Regions from separate parts of the Homo sapiens genome. Here region 1 is linked to region 2. Evidence: promoter capture Hi-C in 16 types of primary human blood cells and fetal thymus (Javierre and others, 2016). All regions are on one chromosome and are shown on one strand. The core of a region is centred on a gene start or on the middle of the fragment in contact, and the rest is flanking DNA. Distances in the headings are between cores, read along the strand shown.

The links. The method cuts DNA at HindIII sites, captures the fragments that hold promoters and counts their contacts. A CHiCAGO score of 5 or more calls a contact.
Region 1: a fragment that was not itself captured here is called in contact with the fragment with the promoter of SGCB in region 2 in 8 of 17 cell types (monocytes, naive CD4 T cells, non-activated CD4 T cells and 5 more); the score reaches 9.8 in monocytes.

The regions. Positions count from the first base shown.
Region 1 is chr4:51,844,260-51,851,437 of GRCh38, reverse strand. All of the region lies in intron 1 of DCUN1D4 (defective in cullin neddylation 1 domain containing 4), which reads right to left. Among named protein-coding and RNA genes, the nearest start is that of DCUN1D4, 4.7 kb to the right of the region's middle. RefSeq lists a silencer at 7,058-7,177. The HindIII fragment of the contact is 2,714 bases long and covers 3,315-6,028 here.
Region 2 is chr4:52,034,906-52,042,384 of GRCh38, reverse strand. It overlaps SGCB (sarcoglycan beta), which reads left to right and starts at 4,086. Exons shown (of 6, transcript NM_000232.5): 1 at 4,086-4,158. The coding sequence starts at 4,126. RefSeq lists a silencer at 3,874-4,313 and an enhancer at 4,554-4,673. The HindIII fragment of the contact is 11,224 bases long and covers 2,985-7,479 here.

The sequences.
Region 1 (7,178 bases), core at 3,422-5,921, 190 kb after region 2:
CACCTGACCCCATATGCCACCTGCACATGCATACACATCCTGTTCTTCACATAATCCAACTTCAAAAGCTAAAACTCACATGACAACTGCTAACCATTCCCCACATGTTCTCAAAGCCCCCGGGGCATCCATCTAACCTAGCAGGCATCATCGTCCCATGCATCCATTCCTTCTGTCTCCACAATGAACTCACTGAAGGAAGCTCCTGAAGCCCCGGTCTCCCCCACACAGTCCTGCCTGTGACAGCAGCACCTGGCAGCAAAAATCCCCTTGAATGTTTGCTGAATGGCTGAGTGAGGGAATGCCTCATTTGGTTCTGTTCTTTCTTATAACTTTTCTTCTCAAGAGTGATTTTTTAAAGGCTACCTAGGAGACTGTCATCACACAGTAATTGTAAGCATCAAAAACACTTTACGTGTTTCATCTCATTTAATCCTTTGGACCACTTATGATTTTTGCCTCCTACTTTCTTCCCTCTGCCCTCCCCCACAACTCTAAGCACCCCAGCCTCTGCTGTTCCTCAAATATAGGCCTGCTCCCCACTCTGAGCTTCTGCATTTGTATTCTCTCTGCCTGGAATGGCCCCTCAGCTCCATCAGGGCTTAGCTTAAAACCTCCTTAGTGAAGCCTTTCCTGGCTCCACTATTTAAAATTACAACACCCTCCACCCCACCCCACGCCCGCACACAGGGGTGCCTGCATGCACCCCTTCCCTGCTGTTTTTCTCTACAGAACCTATCACCATCTGACGTATTACACAATTTACTTGTTACTATCTGCCCCCTCCCCTACACTAAAAGGAAAACTTCATGAAATATGAAGAGCAGGGCCTGGTACATAGTAGATACCCAATAAACACTTGGTGACTGAACAGCCTTCAACAGGCAATTTTTAGGCATGAGGGCTCTGAAGCGCACACAGAGCAGCTGGGTAACTCTACTCCAGTCCCTTGGCTAGGAGATGACAGAGCAAGGATTTGAATTCAGCCATTTTGGCTTTCTTGCCTCCCAACCTGACCCAGATAACAATTAAAAGACATCATCACATCCAGGGAGAAAACCCGAGCCCTGCATGTCTACAGGCCACAGAGAAGCCAGAAAAGCCATCCACTGGAAAGCCGCTCACCAGAACAAGTCATCTAACTCAAGACACTTCTGTGCGGCAAAGTATTATTTATCAGACTGATAATTTATACAGCACTGATAGTTTTTCTTTGGATTTCATAGTTCAGTAAAAACGAGAGATTTATCATGCCTTTATTATACTGTAATATCCTCAGGAACAGCAAAGTGACAAATCATCAGCTAATATGGAGGAGGCCTAAGGTAACATATGTTAAAAGCCAACAATTGTGGTAGTGGGGCAGGAGGAGAAGCACTGACTACAAGGGGACACAAGGGAACTTTTGGGGTAATGAAATGTTCTATATCTTTAGTAAATTCACCCAACAACACTTAAAATGAGTATAATTTTATAATACGTGAAATTATACCTAAATAATGTTGACTAAAAAGGTATTTGGTACATCAGATGTAATTTTTGGCTAAACAAAATAAACATTCCACTAAAACACGCACACACACACACGCACGCACACACACACATATTTCTGTAGCTAATATTCCCACATCAGAGCCAAAAAAAAAATGCACAAGGAGTTATGTATTAGCTCCTAGGCATCCCAACTTTTGGGGGACAAAGAATTAGGAAAAAGCAGCAGTAAAGAGTGGCACATGATGAGACCCAGTGGGCTGGGCTAGTGTGTGGTTCGGGAGTCCTGCCTGACCACCAGCAAACACAGCTCCCACGACCCACAGCTGATATCGACTGTGTCCTCCTCCAGTCCTCTGGGTCACCTCTGACCAGAATGTACAGGCAGCCAGGATGAAAAAGATACATCACTGCTCTTCACAAGGGCTTCTACCACGTATCTGACCAGCGACAGTGACAAGTCTGGATGCTGAAGTATCAGAATTCTTAGTTGAGAGCATCAGAAACTAATTCTAGGTAATTTAAACAGAAAAGTGATTTAAAAAAAGGGGAGGCGGCTATTAGACAGTTCACAGAATCTCCCCCTGGCCATAACAATGCCTAAGGGGACACAGCAGACTGCATCATCATTGCAGCAACAACTAGACCTTGCCTCTAGAAGCAGCACAGCAGCCACCACTGTGCATCCCCCCAGAAAATGGCCACATGGGCTACTCTTCTTTCCTTGCCTCCAGCCTCAGGTTCACAGTCTCAGGCGAGTGTGTCTGAGAAGATCTGCCTGCCAGGGTAAGAATTCTCCAATCAGACCAAGAGTCAATGGACTGACAGTGTCCATTACAGACACTAATCATAAACTAATATGGAGGAGGCCTAAGATGACATATGTTAAAAGCCAACAATTGTGGTCGTGGGGCAGGGGGAGAAGCACAAATGGATTACTCCCCGTCTCTGCAAATCTACTGATACAGGCCAGCAAAAAATTTCACAAGGAAAAAAAAATCCTCGAAGGCAGAACTAAAATAAATCATACCACAGGTAATGCTATTTGAAGAGGGCAGGGGTCTTTTTCATATCTAGTGTTTTTTTCAGTACATTAGTTACAAATGACAAGCCTATCTTCCTAGATTGAACATAACTCATTAACAGCATTTTCTGATTAAAAGCAATTCAAACCTGAAGTAGCAGATACTTTGCTACATCTAAAACTGTCACACAATGATTGTTAAAATACCTAATTCTATTTAGAATGCATTTCAATGTTTTCCTTCTTAAAACACATTTTAAAATACATGTTCTGCTTAGAATACTTCTCAAGAGGTACTTCTCCTAATGTAAATTTCAAAAGAAAAAAAGCAAGCTATGAGAAGAATTAATACCAATTCGAGTTGACCAACTATAAAAATTTACCAGCATTTATGTCAGATTCATCAAAGAAAATTTTACTCTGTAAATCTGAAGAAAGACTTTCAGTGATCTCACTATATTGTTAACTTAAGAAATAAATCCTTAGGACCAGAATATGGATATAAAACAAAAAGAAGGGAAAAGGACAAACACTCTAGGCCCCTTAACATCAGACCTGTTAATGCTGCCTTAACCTTGTGCAGGTAGGACGCTGACACGAGAGACCAGAAACGGACGTGTGCACATTCACAAACACTCCTTCTGTTCCCTCAGCACATCACCAGCATTTTACTCTTTCCTTGAGAATTTCTCCACGCCACATTCTCTAAAACTGATATCTGCATGTTTGAAAAATATTAAATTAGTTTGCATACAACTGACTTTGTCTAAAAAATGCAAAGAATGAGTAGGTGAAAGCTTGTGTTCCTTGAAGAAAAATCTAAAGATAATGAAAGACAACAGGAACAGGAAGAATTAATTTTTCTAGATAATGCACAAGTTATTCAATAGTTGATCATTTAAGTTCAATTCAATACATATTTGGGTAGCTATGCAAGGCATCATGCTAGATGCTAAAGTGGATACTGGGTAAGACATGGTCCCAGATCTCAAAAAGGTAATAATCTAATTGGGGAGGGGAAATAAAAGTAAACAAGCAGCTATTGTTATGTAACATAAAACTGAGTAACAGAAGGAAGCACTGCTTCAGAGATTCCATGAAAGGAGAGTCTGCTAGAGAGGGAGCACAGTAAAGAAAAATTCTAAAACAGCAGCACTGAGGGCAGCTGGAGCCGGGTGCAGTGGCGTGCATCTATAACTTCAGCTACTCAGAGACTGAGGTGGAAGGACCCCTGAAGCCCAGAGTTCGAGTCCAGCCTAGGCAACATAACAAGACCCAACCTCTAAAAAAAAAAAAACAAAAAAGAAAGAAAAATGTATTGCTGGTTATTATAACACTGTAAGAAAGGCTGTCTCAGACATAAGGCCATGGCAATAGGTATGGGAAAGAGAGGCTGGGCATGGGAAGAGATGCAATCTCTCCTTGCCACTGACCAGGGAAGAAGAGGATAAGAAATGTCCAGGATTTCAGTGTGGGTTATTAAAATTACTGCAGCTTCATTTACCAAATGAATAAAATTTATTAGTTTTGTTCTCTTCTTTGACTATTAAAAAGCTCAGTGCCAAATATTTCTAACATATGGCAAGTGTTTCTGTGTACCTTACAAGTCTATATATAAATTTTTCTTCTCTTGACAGGGTTTTATCTATATTTAGCAAGTCACCCCTAATTCTTTTAGAATAAGGCAGAAAATAAATCAACGTAAAGGTTGAGACCAAGCCAGAGACAGCTGGCCAAAGTAGCTGGTTCAGGGATATAACCTGCAAGTTGCCAACCCAGCGCATTCTTCTCACCCTTCTTCCACCCTACGAAAGGCCATATCTTACAAGAGATGCTGGTAAATGCCAGACATTCACTGTGTCAGGCTTCCTCACAGCTAGCAGTGGCATGAGATCAGTTCAATCCAATGACACTGAAATGGAACTCTCCAAAGTGAGTTTCTGCAAAAGACTTCTCTGTTAACAGGGAGTTATAAGGAAATATGCACCTTCCTTCCCTGCTTTCCAATCCAGGCATGATGTCTGGTGCTACGGCAACCATACTGCAAACATGAGGCAAATGAGCCTGAGGAATAAAAGCTAAAACACTAATAGAAGAAGAAAAAGATGCAGAACCTAGATCCTTAATGACATCATTAAGCCACTGCACCAGCTTTAGAACCAACTACTTCTAGGTTTCTTGCTACCGAACAATAATAAGCCCTATTATTTAAGCCATTAATTTGAGCATTGTATTGGCAAAGGCATCCTAACTGATACAAGAGATCATCATGAGGTCAGTTTCTCACAGGTTGATTTTTATACTGCTAAGTTAGCAGGATTATTAGCTATTAATTATTAGTTATAATTAGCAGATGATGATTGAGATAATAATGTAAACGTAGCCAGGAAGAAGGTAATAAGCCAAGAAGAGCTGCTGGGAGCAACTTAACATAAAAACAGAAAAGGAGACAATGATAAAGTTTGAAAAAACATGATTAAGTGCCAGTAGGGGTACACAGAGTTAACAACAGAGGAAGAAGAGAGTGAAGTCCACTAAGAGAAAATGAGGCAGGCCTTCTTTTCTGGCAATGTTACAGACAAGATTACCTAAAAATCCTTCTTAATATAAAACAGTCAAAAATTCTGGATAACGTGTAAGAAACATCTGTTTAAATGCACAGCTACGTTCACAAGAAAATAAAGGACCTCCCCAAGCGCCAAAAATCAAAAAGGAACCTAAAAACCAGAGCAGAAAGTGTGTAGGAGCCTAGGGCTTTGGGGAATGGAGGGAGGTGGGCTATATGTGTATAAAAAGCACCTGCCCTTTGGGATATAATAGAACAAAAGAAAAAGAGAAAGCTATGACTAGCTTCATATTTTCTTTAAAAACACCATTTTGAAGACAATTATAGCTCTTGCATGTTTTTCAACCTCATCACTTTACCCTCTGCAAGAAAAAATTCCAGAGTTAAGTGCACATTTTTGTACATATTTTTATATTACCAAGAGTTTCCTGGATATTTCACCACACGATTAAGTAAAATATGACAGATAGATATAAATGATCTCCACAAGAACACCACACACATTGCCCAATTTTTCACTCATCATGAAAAGAACCATCAAACAATCAAGTATCCAAGTTCAGTATGTTTGTAACCACACCAAAAGGTTTACAAATCTTAGGACTTCTTGGTAATATTTTTATCATCAGAAAAATTACAATATTCTTCTAATGACTATGTTGCAAGTAGTTTCATAATACCTTATATATTACATACAAAAATCTATCATCTCTGCATTAATCTTAGCCTTCTACATTACAGATTCTGGAGTCCCTTCCCTGTAAACAGTAAAGGGAACTGGTGAAGGATGTGACGTTTAGGGAGTCTACTTATGGAGAGGAAGGTTTCTAGTATTAAGGAGAGAAGGAATTGCAGCCTGCAGCTAATAATAAAACAAGCAAACAAAAAAAGTCTTATGGTTCTCCACTTTTTACAGTTTTCTTCTATTCTCATTTGCTTTCCAAGCTTCTTCGAAAATTGAAGACGTCACATATTACCTTTGCTCACCTTCACATTTCCACCCTAAATTCCACTAACCCACCTCCATCACTCATTTCAAGACAGTTATTTTTTCAAACACCCCAAGAAATACCAACACATAGTTTATATTATCGTTACAAGGGTTACGTGTACCTCCACTGTGTTCTCATATTTATGCAAGGGAATGCTGGAACCCAGTGCTTACACACACTGGATGCCAAAATTAAATACACCATTCTAAAGGCTGCTTTACATTGTGTTGCTTCTTAAATGTTTTCCCACAACCCGTGCGCATGATGGTACAAGACCAAGCATTTATTCCACAAGTAAGGCCACAAAATGCAGGGGGAAATTCACTTGGGGACCAAGAACCTAAGCGTGAAGAGGGCTGCGCCTGGCGTGGGCTCTCCCTCTCCCAAGGGAGAAGGGCTGGGGAGTCGCTCCGTCCCTGGGAACTCAACCGCCTCCCGAGAGCGCGCAGGAGCTGGCCGGGGAATAAAGCACGAGTTGGCCGAGCAGGAAGGCTCCAAGGGCGCGCTGCATGCCGGGACCCGTTTCCACAGTTACCCACGTGCACCCAACCCAACCGCGGCCGGGCGCGGCCGCGACTACAAGTCCCAGAATTCGGCGGGACCGCCTTTCCCCTTCATACCCGTTGACTGGAGACAAACCCTAAAGGAAACCCCTCAAGCGCCCTCCCAGCACGCCTGGGAGAAGTCGCGCCCCCCGGGCGTGGGGCGCGGCCTAGGGCCCGGCCATCCCTCTAAGGAAGCGGGTTCCATGGCACCAACCCCCACACCTGATAGCCAGAAATTAGACAACTGCGTCACAGACTATCAAACCCACGGACTGCCAGGGACCCCGACACCTCCCCGGCGCCAAGCCCCCGACCCGGCCATCAGGGCCCGACCCCTCCGGCTCCCGCTGCTGAAACCCCGCAGCCCGCACCCCTGCCCCGCCTCCTAGTCCCGCTGCCGGAGCCCGCGCCAGCGCTGACCTCGCTTCCCGCCGTCCGGGGGGAACCACGGCCAGTTCCAACCTTAGGGCACTTACCCCGTCTCCTCCACCTCAGCCCCGCCCCCTCCTCTCTCCGCACCCCGAAGCTTGGACTCCCCCCTTCAAGGGACCCTGCCTCGA
Region 2 (7,479 bases), core at 2,837-5,336:
TTAGATGCTAGTAATATTTTTTACCCAATAGAAAAAATTAATTTAATATTCATCAGAGCTATTAAGTATGTATTATATACTTGGTTCTTAATGTGTTCAGGACTTAGAGCAACATGGAAAATAATAACACATTACCTCTGCTTTGTAAGGAACTCAGTCTAATCAGAAGCAAACTGTATATGCATGAAAAGTAAAGTAACAAGATACTGCACTAAGTATCAAATGGGTGTTACAGCAAATTAGTGCAATAATAGTTAAAAGGAAAGAGGAATAAGGACTGGCTGTGATTGTCAGGAGGAGGTAGGACTGAGGTTGGTTCTGAAAAATGGGAAGAATCTGGAGAGGCATGAATTCACAGATAACTAAAACAGATGGACAAATAAATAAATTTCAGTATAGTGTGATGTGACAATAGCAGCATGCTTGGGGATCACAGAGAGGTCCACACAAATCAGAAATGTATGATTGGGAGAAGGTTTAAGAAAGGCTTTTCAGAAAAGATATCCCTTGATCTGAGTTTTAGTGGACAAGTAGAGACAGCTAGATTAAAAGGAGAAAGAGCCACATATGCAAAGGAACAGAGCCATTAAGAACTTGAGTTCGGGCAAGCAGATGGGGGCTGCAAATATTGCACAGGGATAAAGGGATAGATTACTTTGTCTCTGATTCCCTGACTCCTCTGTAGTCACGTTGGATGTGTGTGTGGGACAGGCAGGAAACAAGGCTAGAAAGGGGCAGAAGGACCAAAAGTTTCTAACCTTTTGGTGAAGGACCAAAATTTGGTGAAGGACCAAATATAAGGAGCTTAAATTTTATCATGAAAGGTATTGGAGTATGGTAAGCTTGAGGGTGAGGAGTGACATGATCAGATTTGTATTTTAGAAAGATCATTCCAGAAATAGTATAGAACTACTTTGAGGTGTCTGACTAGATGGTGATATCATTCACTAAGGGAACACAGGAGGACCAGATTGGGAAGAAAGGTTTTGAGTTCAAATTTTTCATGTGTTGAACTTGAAGTGTGTATTTGTAACACACAAACTTGGTGGCTTTAAACAACAGAAATTTGTTGTCTTACAGTTCCAGAGGTTAGAAGTAAGAAATCAGAGCCTTCTGGAGGCTCTAAGCGTATATCTGCTCCATCCCTCTTTCTTAGCTTCTGGTAGCGGTTGGCAATTATTGGTATTCCTTGCCTAGTAGAGTGATCACTCCAATCTCTGCTTCTATGTTCATATCATCTTAGTGTATGTTGCCATTCTGTCCTCTTATAAGGATAAGGGCTCATCCTAAATTCAGAGTGATCTCAAGATCCTTAAAAACATCTGTCTTAGTTCATTTGGGCTGCTATAACAGAATATGGACTAGGTGGCTTATAAACAACAGAGCTTTATTTCTCACAGTTTTGGAGGTTGGGACATCCAAGATCAACATGCTTAGAGATTTAGTGTCTGGTGAAGGCCTGTTTCCTGATTCATAGATGTCACTGTGTCCTCACATGGTGGAAGAAACAAACCAATTCTCTTGGATCTATTTTATAAAGGCACTAATCCTATTCATGAGAACTAATCATGAATAGTGATAGCTAATCACCCATCATTTCCTTCTATGATGTGAATGTGTCCCCAAAAATTCATGTTCGGAAATTTAATCTCCAATGCAACAGCATTGGGTGGTGTTGCCTTTTGAGAGCTGTTCAGGTCATAGGGGCTTGGCATTCCTCCCCTCAGGATGACAAGGTGTTCAAGGTAACATCCTGGAAACAGAGACCAGACCCTCATCAGACAACTGAACCTGCTTGGACTTCTCAGCCTCCAGAACTGTGGGAAAATAATTTTTTGTGCTTTATAAATTCTTCACTCTCAGATGGTCTGTTATAGAAGCACAAAGTGGACTAAGTCAGCTTCTAAAGGCCCTACCTCCTAATATCATCACACTGGGGGCTAAGATTTCCACATGTGAAATATTCAGGGGAGACACAAACATTCATTCTATAGCAATCTGCAAAGACTCTGTTTCAAAGTAACACCACGTTCACAGATACTGGAGGTTAGGACTTGGATATGCCTTTTTGCAGGGCACTATTCAAACCACTGCAAAGTGAACAAAGGTGTAAGTGTCTTCATAATCTGACTCATACTCCAGCCCTGGGGACCTGTGTTTTGTGCTTCCAAATGCTAATATCATGCAACAGTCAAAAGAAAGAGCAAAATTAAAGGCTGTGATGTATGGTAGAAAGAGCAAAGACTAGTCAGATGGACCTAGATTCAATACTGGCTCTTTAGGAGTTGAAAAGATGGTCAGCCATTTAACCTCTACAAGCCTTGATTTCTTCATTTGTAAAAGAGGCATTGCCAGGCACAGAGTTGACTTTAAATGTCATTATTTCAGGGGAAAAAAGGCTGACAATAGTACATTTGAAAATAACCCACATTAAAATGTGGTCATGTGAGTGAATTGGATCTCTTTAAAAGAGAATAGAAATTGGCATTAAGAATAGTGGGATGTCCTGTCAGAGATGGACATCAGCGATGAGGAAAGAATCCAAGAGAAGGTGATATTCAAATAGCCAAAGGAGCATTTGGTTTCAGGAAAATTGGCTACCAGGTATCTCACCACCTAAGTGGGAGGGAGGTTGGCAAAATCAAGTCAGGGCTTAGAAATTGGGATACTGGGCAGATTTCTAAGATATCTATTAAGTTTAATTACTGTGCTAGACATTGGAGATTAAACGATGAGTAAGACACCTACCTTCCAGATAGAACACACCATCTTTTGAATGAAATCAGCAGGTAGACAAGATAAAAATACAATGCAATCTGAAGTGCTAGAAAAGGCTAGGCACACAGTTAAGGAACAGATCTGTGGGAGCCTCTGAAGCCTTTAGAGAAAATATGACGTTTGAATAGAATAGTTCTTGAAGGATGAATAAGAGTGCGCGTGCCAGGGAAGAAGAACTTTCCCAGCAGAGAGAAAAACGCAAAGCTTAGGAATTAAGGACTAGAAGATAGGAACTCAGAATCAGTTAAAAGCCCAGTTGTGCAAATTGATCAATGAGACCACAGGCAGAATATTAACACAGAGCCTTACTGCTGACTCCTGCATCATTGGGCTTTAACTTAGAATTTTCCTGCCTAAAATGCATGTTTGTCCCACAGACTCAGAGAGGAGTGAGTCTAGAGATATGAGTCAAGTGGTTCCAGCATTTAGGAAAAAAGAAATGCAGAGAGACTGATGACCAGCTAGGTACTGACTCCCACTGAATTAGACAGTACTAGGGCCCAAAGGTGCTTATTAGAAGTGATTCAGCTACATGAGGAACAGTTGCTATTGACTTCACTGCATTTTTTTTCAGCTAAAATAATTATTGGATTATATCTACAACAGGGAACAATGAATGTCTACTCAAGTAACTCGTACATTTGAGTGGCTTCCCGGTGTTCAGTAAATGTCCGTTCAATTAGGTTCCCGAGGATATACATGGTAACACTATCTCCAACACTAAATGAAAAATCCATCCCCAGTATCGCAGGATAAAAACATCAGACTTCATAGGCCTCCGAAGTCAAGCAGCCCGAAGGATTCAACGTCCTCCTTGAGGACTCTCAGTCTTCAAGACTCCAGCCACCTAAGTGACCACTCGTTCACTTCTGCCCACGCAGTCACCACGCCGGTCCGCGTCCACTTGTGGTCTCGATATCGGCCCCTCCCACCCTAGCCAAGGAGACCTTGGTCCGAGAAACAAAGAGAGCCTCACAGCTCCGGATGGCACCGATCTTTCAGCGATGGGGAACAAAGGGGAAGGGGAGAAGCGTCCTCGATTTTTGAGGGTGCCCTTTCTGAGGAATCTGCAGGCGGCCCGGGGTGGAGCGGAATCCCCATAGGCCCCTTCTGGCCCCTGTGCAATACAACGCGCCCCAGGCCAAGGTCCTAGGTGCAGGGGCCGCCGCAGAGCCTGAGCCCGCAGGGCTGGGATGCGGGTCGTCAGGGATGCGGGCTGGGGAGGGGAGGGTGTGAGCAGCGGGTGCCCCCAGTCCCCGCCAGGGCGCAAGCGCAGGCGCGCAGGGTGCGGTCGCGGAGGGGCGGGCACAGTCGGGCGGGGAGCTCGGCGGCGGCGGGCGCGGGAAGATGGCGGCAGCGGCGGCGGCGGCTGCAGAACAGGTCTGTGAGTACCGCCGCGGCCGCGGGCTGGAGGAGCGGGGGAGGCCGCGTCCTGCCGGCTGGGCCCGCGGGAGCCCTGGCCGGGGGTGCGGGGGGCGCGGGCCGCAGGGTCTGGGTTCGGCGGGGCCGATCGGGGCGGGGCGGGGCGGGAGGAGCTGTGCCCCGCCGAGGATGCTGGCACAAGCTAGGGACCAGGAGCCAGGGGCGGCCTCGGGCTCGGCCCGGCCTGGCTGATCCTCGGAGGGGGTGAGGAGGGGTCTCCTTCCGGAGAGCCTGGGAGGCGGTCGAGCCAGCCTGGAAGCCTGCGCTGGGACGTGCCAGGGACGTACCCCGTTCAGCCGCCAGCAGAGATTTGGATAAAAATAACCGCAGCCCCAGCGAGAAGGCTCCTCTTACAAGAAACGGGTCAGCTGTTGCCCCGGTGTCAGCTTGCCATCTTTGTTTTTTGTTTCTGCCATCTCCAATATGCAGACATCCCAGATTTCCCCTCACGCTTTGGTTTTTGAAGATTTAGTCACCAGTCTAAAACTATCTCCTGTTCACTTTTAAAAATGATTTATCCAAGATTTCCTGACCTGCATTGTAAACTTGTAACTTAGAATGGTTTAAAAGGCTCCTCATCCCCCCAAAATCTAGTTATACGTATGCATACATGTACATGCATATGTGTGTGTGTTAATATATACATACACGTAATCGCTAGGGTGATTTATTGTAATACAGATAATTTTCAGTAACTTTCCCCCTTACCTAACTTACTTTTCCTTTGAACAATTATAGTAGTTTCTCTTTAAAAAGTCTCATTCTAAAACATTGTTGAAAAAAATGAGTCAAGTTTTGACCTTTGGAACGATTTTCTTAGATAATTAACTTTTTAGAGACCTATTAGATATATGTCACTGGAGGGCTCATTCTGAAGATAAAAGACGTAAAATCTCTCTTCAAGGAGCTTAAAGTCATACAGCCAAATACATGCAGAAAAAATCAGCTAAAGACAATAGGCAGGCTGCAGATTTGTAACAGTAAAATAAAACATAGAGGAATGAGTGAAACTGAAAGGAGACAAAACTTCTTGGAGTTGGTATTTAAATTGTGCCTTGGCTTTCCTCATTTCCCGCCTAAGTTATCAGCTTCTGTTTCAGATGATTGTTTTTCCATCTGGTTCTATTTTTGCTTTACACATAAGTGGGGCAGTCTGATCCGTTACTCAGTCTCCACTTCAAATTTACGCATTACGTCTCCAGCCCTGAACTTAACTGAATTTTCCATAGGCACCTCAAACTCAAAAATGTTCAAAACTGGACTCTGTCATACTTACTATTAAAAAGGCTACAACCATCCATTCACTTGTTTAACCTAGCCAGAAACTTAGGACCAAGGCCATTTTAAGGGAGCTGAGAAGGACCTGCACTTGGTTTAATGTTCTGCTGTCCTGGGCTTGAGATTTAAACAGTGAGCCCCACATTTTCTTTTCCCCCTGGGCCCCACAAATTATATAGCCAGTCCTATTTGGGAGTCATCTTCGACCCCTTTGTGCCACACTCATATCCAAACAATCACGAGATCCTGACAGTTCTACCTCTTAACACCTTTCCCCAGACTTCAGCTTCAAAGTCAAACCTCAGTCAGTACCTCATTGGGACTCTTAGAGAAACCTGCTGTTGATATCTTCACTTCTAGGCTCTTCAGTTCCAGTTCATCTCTTTTTGGAGTGATTTTACTACAATGCAAATCTGATTGTATAGGAAACCTATTTTAACTCTTCAGTAGTTCCCCTTTGCCTTCAGGATAAAGTCCATTGTTCTTGTCATGGTATTTATGTTGCTTACTGGCCCCTAAGCACATCTCTCATTGTATTTCTTGCTTCATCCCTACACCTATCCTTCTCACCATCCACATAAAGTGACCAAAATTAGTTCTCCCAGAGATGGTTGCCTCTCAAAGTCTCCATGCTTCTTCCTCTGCCTAGAGTGACCTTCTTAGCTCTTTTGCCTGGTTAACTCCTGTCCATCCTTCAAGAGTTAACTCAACCTTCAGCTTTTCTTAGAAACTTTCCCTGATGCCCTTGCCTGCTAGGTGGAGATGCATTCCTCTTCTGTACCCTTTCTGTATTGTATGCATTGCTCCACTACAGCACTTGTCATGCTTTGTGAACTGTTAGTCACCTTGTCTGTCTACCTGACTGGCCTGTAATTAAGCTCCTTGAGGGTGGACACTATGTTCATCCTGGTAGCTTGGAGCACCTGGCTTATAGTAACTATTCAATAAATGTTAAATGCATCAAGATGAAGACAGTAATGTGCATGGTTTGGCAGAGAAGAGTAAAGACTACGTCTCAGGAGGGATGAATTTTGTCCTTTCTCTCTTTTATGTGGACCTATATTCAAACTTTGGCTAACACTTTTAAGTTGCCCATCTGTTAGGGCTGTCAGAAGCCTGAGGTTCTTTTTTGGAACCTGACTACAAATTCTGTTAAGTCTTCTCTTAAAGTATCTACTTAATCTCTCCTTTTTCATCCCACTTTAGTTTAGGTCCTCTTAACCTCAATCCTCCATTACTACAACATCCCCAGCAGCTTACTTACTGGTACTCCTCTTTCTTCTCTCTCGTACAAATGCCCACACCTTTAACACTCTGAATTTGTGCTCAAAAACCTCCAGTGACTCCCAATTAAATAGAACATAAAGACTAGAATTTGTACCCTGCTGTCCAAGAACCTTCACAACCTGGCCCTACTTTTCCAACTTCCTCTTCCCTGCCTTGCCATATCTGACCCATCTACTTCTCCCCATTTCCCTAACAACTCCAGGTCATCCTGTCTCTCCTCCCTTTGAACTCTGCAGTGTGTATTGCCTAGACTATTGATTTTGGCACCTGAACATACAGAGTGCTTTATTGCATTGTTAAATATTTTATGTTAACATGTACACAAATCATATCTGTTAATACATAGAGGATAAGGACCCTTTCCTATAGTTCTTTTGTATTCCTATCTATGGAATTAGTGTTTAAGCGTAAAGTGCTTAATACATGCGTATTCAACAACTGAATTTTCTCAGAGCTTTAAGAAATAAGTAGGACAGTATCCATTTCTGCCCATTTCTTTTGTGCTCTTGATATTCAAGATTATTACCCAAAATGTCATTCAACCATAGTCTAGGTCAGAGGTTCTCAAATCATTTTGGTCTCAGGTTCTCTTTACACTCTTAAAAAATGGAGGATTCCAAAGAGCTTTGGTTTATGTGGGTTATATTCATTGATATTTACTATAGGAGAAGTTAAAATGGAGAAATTTTTAAAGTACAGGGCTATACAAGCATA